2 separate regions of the Homo sapiens genome follow, and region 1 is linked to region 2. The links are contacts of gene promoters, found by promoter capture Hi-C in blood cells and fetal thymus (Javierre and others, 2016). All regions are on one chromosome and are shown on one strand. Each heading gives the region's core, a stretch centred on a gene start or on the middle of the fragment in contact. The rest is flanking DNA. Distances are from core to core; before and after follow the strand shown. Region 1 holds the start of DNTTIP2 (deoxynucleotidyltransferase terminal interacting protein 2). Region 2 holds the start of PKN2 (protein kinase N2).

Region 1 (3,117 bases), core at 75-2,574, 5.2 Mb after region 2:
CACTGTAATTTAGGTAGGGCTGGAACAAGGGCAAAGCAAATGAAATACTGACCCCAAAAGCTAAAACCCAGTAAACAAGATTACCTTTAAAACAAAAAACAAAAAAACCTGCCCAACTCATGATTTTTAAAAAATCAAAATTTGGCCGGGCGCGGTGGCTTACGGCTGTAATCCCAGCACTCTGGGAGGCCGAGGCAGGTGGATCACGAGGTCAGGAGTTCGAGACAGCTTGGCCAACATAGTGAAACCCCATCTCTACTCAAAGTAAAAAAATTAGCGGGGCGTGTTGGTGCGCACCTGTAATCCCAACTACTCAGGAGCCTGAGGCAGAAGAATTGTTGGAATCCGGGAGGCAGAAGTTGCAGTGAGCCGAGGCTGCGCCACTGCACTCTAGCCTGGGCGACAGAGCAAGACTCCGAATCAAAAACAAACAAACAAAAAAATCAAAATTTAAACACTGGAGCCAACCCTGCATTTACTTCACTAGCCTCATCCTTCCTAGATGTAACTTCAGAAGCAGAACGATTAAAATTTTTCTGTTTAAAGTCAAATATAATGGGTAGACCAACATTCTGACCCACCTATAGAAGAGGGGAGAAAGGGAATATTAACTCTGAACACCGATGTGTTTAGGAACACACTGATGGAATCAGTCGCCGCCCTTACCTTTACGTACAGGAAAAAATCGCCGCCGCTCCGTTCCCTGCATCGCTGAGTCAGAATGAGACAGCCGACTAACGCCACTAAGAGTCACCAGGCGACGACACCACAGCCCTCCTCACGCCTTAAGGAGGTGATGCTGGACAGCTGCCAGCCTCCCCACGTGAAAACGAAGCTTTTTTTCCAGCCCCCCTAAATGGGGCTTGTGCATGGTGGCCGAAATTAACCCTCCTTGGTACCGTGTTAACAGTAAGGTTTAAAAGTTCGAACTGTGCTTCTGCATTAAGGAGTTGAACGACCCAAATAAAGTTATCTAACCTCTCTTCCATACTAAAAATTGCCTTAAGAGACAGTGGTGAAGGCTAAACAGTTTCCGTGACAGGCTTAGCACGGGGCCTGGGAGACCCAAGCGCGCGGCAAGCTCGGGTCCTCTCTGTCGGCAGGTCCTCACCCTTAACCGGACCCTTGCGCCGCCCCGCCTGCCTGAGCGCGGCTCTGCGAAGCGGCGAGAAGTAGGGAAGACTGGATTTCCTACCTTTTGCCCGGAACTTTCAGCCGACGCGGCTTGGATGCTGGCCTTAGCCCGTGCAGATCTGGTAACCACCATCTTTCCGGCTCCCTCGCGACCACCACGACTTCCCTCTTCCCTGGCGCTCCGGAAATGCGTCAGAGAACTGCCTCGAGCGCGTTTTCCGCGCAGATCCGAGAATTCGCGAGAATCTCCGCCCAGCCAGTTCAGGCCAGGGCGGTCAGAGACAAAGGGCCTGGGTTTAAGTGTGCATTTCAGAGCTGTAGAAGGCAAGCCAGATTTTTGCTGGGAAAGACCTTCATCGGGGCGGCGAAGCCCGCAGTGACAGAGGGTCTTAGCGTACCCGTTCACATGAATTGTAAAAACGCACTTACATGCCATTCGTTCTTTCATTTGTTTAGTAGAATCGTTTGAACCCGGGAGGCGTTCTTTCATTTCTACGTTCTAAAGAGCTTAATGTAGCCATTGGTATGTCCAAGGGAGAAGTTTGAGATATTTGTGCTTTTTAAAGAAAGACAATATTTACTCGTGTATTGTGACGCTAACTATAAATAAAATTTAAGGACTTGGTTGGGGTAAAAGGGATATAAGGTGCTCGCAGGAACTGGGAGACGAAGTGGAAAGCTGTATAATCTAAACGTGAGATGGTGTTTAGGGATTGGGAATAGCAGAAAAGAAAAAAACGTTAAAGAAATTGTAAAGGAGAAGAATAAGGTTTTGTTGTTGTTGTTGTTGTTGTTATTGTCACAGTGAAAGGAAGAGTATGACCAGAATCAAGAGGTTTCTTTGGTTATCTTTTGAGATAAAAGGTAGAGAACTATGTTTGAGGGGATGGGAAGGGGTTGAAAAAATAAGTAAACGCAAATTATTGTTGGAGGTGAGAAAGGATGAATGAGTGCCTCACCAAACCTAGTCTCTACTTCATGACAGAAAACCAATTTTTTATTTAAAGTCACAGAACACTGTGTCGATGGACACACTGCTTCCCAGCTTAAAATAGCTTATTTTATAGTCTCTCTTGCAGCCAAATGTGGCTATGTGACTACGTTTTAGCCAATTAGGTATAAATTGTGTGCATGTCTTTAGGGACGGCATCTAAAAGAGAGGAGGCCGTCCCTGACTTTTTTTTTTGGAGACGGAGTCTTGCTCTGTCGCCCAGGGTGGAGTGCAATGGCGCAATCTTGGGTCACTGCAACCTCCGCCTCCCGGGTTCAAGCGATTCTCCTGCTTCAGCCTCCTGAGTAGCTGAGATTACAGGCGCCCGCCACCATTCCTGGCTAATTTTTTTTTTGTATTTTTAGTAGAGACGGGGTTTCACCATGTTGGGCAGGCTGGTCTTGAACTCCTGCCTTCAGGTGATTCACCCGCCTCGGCCTCTCAAAGTGCTGGGATTACAGTGCTGGGATTATAGGCCTAAACGACCTCGCCCAGCCCTCCTGATCTTTTAAAGTGCATTTTACTTCCTGGAAAGTTGGGTTCGCTGGTTTTCAGGCGGCAAGTTTGTGCCATAAGGATGAAGGCATGCTTTAGAGATGGCATAGCAGTGAGATGGAAAAATCAACTTGTGGAGCTGCCCTATGAGCCCTCAAGAGCCGCCTTCTAGATTTTTCACCTGATGGAAACACCTTGTTAAAAGCCACTGTTAATTAAGGATTTTTCTATTTGCAGCCGAGCCTAATGCTAACTGAACTGGATAATAAACAGAGATGTGGGTGTAGTCAGAAAAGAATGCACCTTCCTTTGAGCCAGGAGGAAAGAGTTGATATCTGAAACAGAGAGGAGAATGTGAATGCAAGTATGTTCAAGTGGAGTGAAGAAGAGAAGATTTTGGGTAGATAATAACCTCTGTAAGTAGGTGATACATCTCAGAAGAATGGAAATGGTTTATATCAACATTTGTGGCAAATGTGGTAAGAAGCAAAAATAAA
Region 2 (2,929 bases), core at 230-2,729:
CCTTTCTGTAACTCCAAAGCCTAGGAAACCATCTGGCTTTTAGTTACCAGTAAAGGTAATCATATCCCGGCCTTTCCAAGTGTTCTTTCATGTATTTAATTATCATCTTCAACCAAGGCAATATACTAGACACATAAATAGTTGTAAGACTTGTGAAGTACACACCAGAAAAATTCTTTATCACACATATGATAAGTTAGAGTTCAGAAACTGTGGCCACAGAACTCCAGATCTTCAATACATGTTTGCTGAATTGATGTATGAGACTTGAGAAGGCAAAAGGATAGACGTTAAGTCCTGGCATCAGGCCAACAGAGTTACATGGAGCGTGTGAGAAGTACATAATGTTACACTTCCTAAGAAATATGTCAACGAATGCCCTTTCTAAGTAGCAACGTACCTAAATAACCCTTACCACTCTCTCCAGGTAGTTTTAACAAAGGTATTGTACCGCAGCTTCAAAAAATCAAAAGTTACGCGTTTACCTATCCATTCACTGCTCAGACAAAACAAAAACAAAAGCTACCTGTAGGAGACTTCGAAATTCCTTAATACCATAGTGTCATTAAAAACAAACACCTAGATTTACTTTACTTAGCTATATTTTACTAAGTAGTCAGGTTAGCTTTAATGCTTACCACGCCAAGGAAAGGTGGCTTTTTTCCTTTCCCGAGGGTAATCCCGTCCCACCTCCCCCTCCCTTAAATAAAGTTAAAACAACCCAAAAAAACCCAGCTAATTCTCAGCTCTGTACAGTTCTCCAGTACAAGCAACAGTAGTTCAACCTCAAGAAAAAGACATCTTAAAGGCCGTACATTAAAAGTTGCCAGGGATCCAGCCGCTTACATTTCATGAAAAGTACAGACCATACCCGTTTAGCTAGCTGTGCACCTTAACTGGTCGAGAAGGCGCGCTGGGGGCTGGGTTTGAGGGTGAGCAAAAGGCAAGATTATTAGTTTGGGTTGACGTGGGGGTCAAGGGGAGAGCAGAGGAATAATCTGTAAGATCTGAGTCCCGAAGCTCTTTGGGTTATGGAGGTTAGAAAAGGGCCTGTTAAAGTTAGGCCCAAGTTTCGGCAAGGTGGAACTGGGAAAAAAAAAAAAGAAAGAAAAAAAAAACGAAACCCGAAAAAACAACAGCGAGCAGGCTCCCGAGTTCTAGCGTTCACAGTGAAGCCGTTAAACGCAGCAGGAAAGTAGGCGTGTGTTTTCTTCCTCTTCCCGCCTCCCCAGAGACTCGAGCCCAGTCCTTTCCCCTCATTTTCACCCCAGCCGAGTCCAATGGCTGCCCTCGCCGCGGAGTCGGGTCGGAAGACGCCCCGCCCCCTCGCCGCGTTCGCCCTAGGGAACCCCTCCGCCCCACCTTCCCTGCCCGATGAGGGGCAGTGGCTGCCGCCGTCACGTGTGCTGGCAGCCGCCAAGTGAGGCCGCTTTTGCGACGCGGTGACAGCCAAATGGTGCGACAGGAGGAGCTGCAGCCGCGGCCGCAGCGCCCGCACGGAGAGGCTTGAGGCGGCTCCTGGCGTCGCCCAGAGGGAGCGACTAGACGAACAGTCCGGTGAGGGCGGCGAGAGGAAGCCCGCTACGAGTGCCCTAGCTCCCCGCCGCTCTCGATGAACCGGACGGAATAAGCCGCGCCTCCAGCAGGGGCTGCGCCTCCATGAATCCCTAGTTGTTTTTTTTTTTTTCTTTCTCTCCCCTCTCCTCACCCCCACCCCGAGCCCCGTCCCGCCTTCTCCCTTCGCCAGAGGCGGCCGCGTCCAGGTGCGGAGTCCATACCGGAGCGCAATGGCGTCCAACCCCGAACGGGGGGAGATTCTGCTCACGGAACTGCAGGTAAGGGCCGCGGCCCTGGTGAGAGGCGCTGGCGGAGGAGACAGGGAGAGAGCCCCGCGCGGCGTCGGGGACCGAGGAAAGCCCTGCGGCCGCCGCGCCCCTAGCCCGCTAAGTGCGGAAACTCCGGGATGTCACTCGGGAAATGCTTCCCTCGGGGAACCGCTTCCCTGGGGAGCCGGACCCTCTCCCCCGCCAAAGCCCTGGCCTGCCACCGCTTTGGTTTGATTCTGCCTACCAGAGGGGACCCCATCTCTGCAGCCCTGCTGCAGCGGGAGCCTGCTCTCGCCTGGTCCCCGGAGAGGCCGGCCCGTCGCCCCCTCCCTCGGTGTCAGAGCTACCCGCGAACGCCCCTGTTGCCCCCTCCCTTCGCGCGGCCGGGCCCCGCCCCGCCTTTCCTCCGTACACCGCTCCTTAAACTCCTTTGAATGACTCCCAAGCTGTTTTCTTGTCCCTCCCCCTCCCCTCAGACTCCGCACAAAGAGCGCCCCCATAACTTCCAGCCCCTAGACAAGTTTTTTTAAAAAACGAGTCTCACCAAATGTTTGCTTCACTTCAGCAGCCCTCTTCAGGTGACAGAGTTTCTTTCCTCTATTTTGAGGGTTATCTTTTTCTTTTCTTTTCCTTTCTTTTTTTTTTTTTAACCGAGTGATAAATACAGGGTGCCTTTCTCTGCTACCCCTGCCCAGATCCGGGAGCTCAGATGCTGATGCTTTTCAGACTTTCATTTTCCCTCTCATTTGAGCACCAGAGAAAGAGCTAATAAGTTGTTTACTAATGAGAAAGCAGTCGACTAAGGGAAAACATTGGGCACCACATGTCTGCAAAAGATGAGAGCAAAGTAGATCGCTTAGTTAAGTCATGTCGAGTAGCAATGTTATTTCCCATTTCCAGATAAATATTTGATAATGTAGGCACGATTTTCTTTAGATCTCTATGGTGTACATGGGGACTTAAGCTACCCTGTCGGGTTTTTCATTACTTGGGAGTGTTCCAGAGATGTTTGTTTTTTGACTTAAAAGTTATTTTGCTTTATTTTAATATAGTTATCTTTTAGCTACTCAAAGATTGTAGATGGGAATTAGGAGAAAAAAATA

Evidence for each region. The method cuts DNA at HindIII sites, captures the fragments that hold promoters and counts their contacts. A CHiCAGO score of 5 or more calls a contact.
Region 1: a contact is called between the fragment with the promoter of DNTTIP2 here and the fragment with the promoter of PKN2 in region 2, in 3 of 17 cell types (naive CD8 T cells, total CD8 T cells and non-activated CD4 T cells). The highest score is 9.2, in naive CD8 T cells.

What each region holds. Positions count from the first base shown.
Region 1 is chr1:93,877,882-93,880,998 of GRCh38, forward strand. DNTTIP2 (deoxynucleotidyltransferase terminal interacting protein 2) reads right to left here and starts at 1,325. Exons shown (of 7, transcript NM_014597.5): 1 at 1,196-1,325. The coding sequence starts at 1,267. RefSeq lists enhancers at 1,051-1,480, 1,332-2,147. The HindIII fragment of the contact is 5,310 bases long and covers 834-3,117 here.
Region 2 is chr1:88,682,794-88,685,722 of GRCh38, forward strand. It overlaps PKN2 (protein kinase N2), which reads left to right and starts at 1,480. Exons shown (of 22, transcript NM_006256.4): 1 at 1,480-1,835. The coding sequence starts at 1,788. PKN2-AS1 (PKN2 antisense RNA 1) reads right to left here and starts at 2,411. Exons shown (of 4, transcript NR_110682.1): 1 at 2,371-2,411. RefSeq lists enhancers at 1,315-1,644, 1,675-1,754. The HindIII fragment of the contact is 6,383 bases long and covers 1-2,929 here.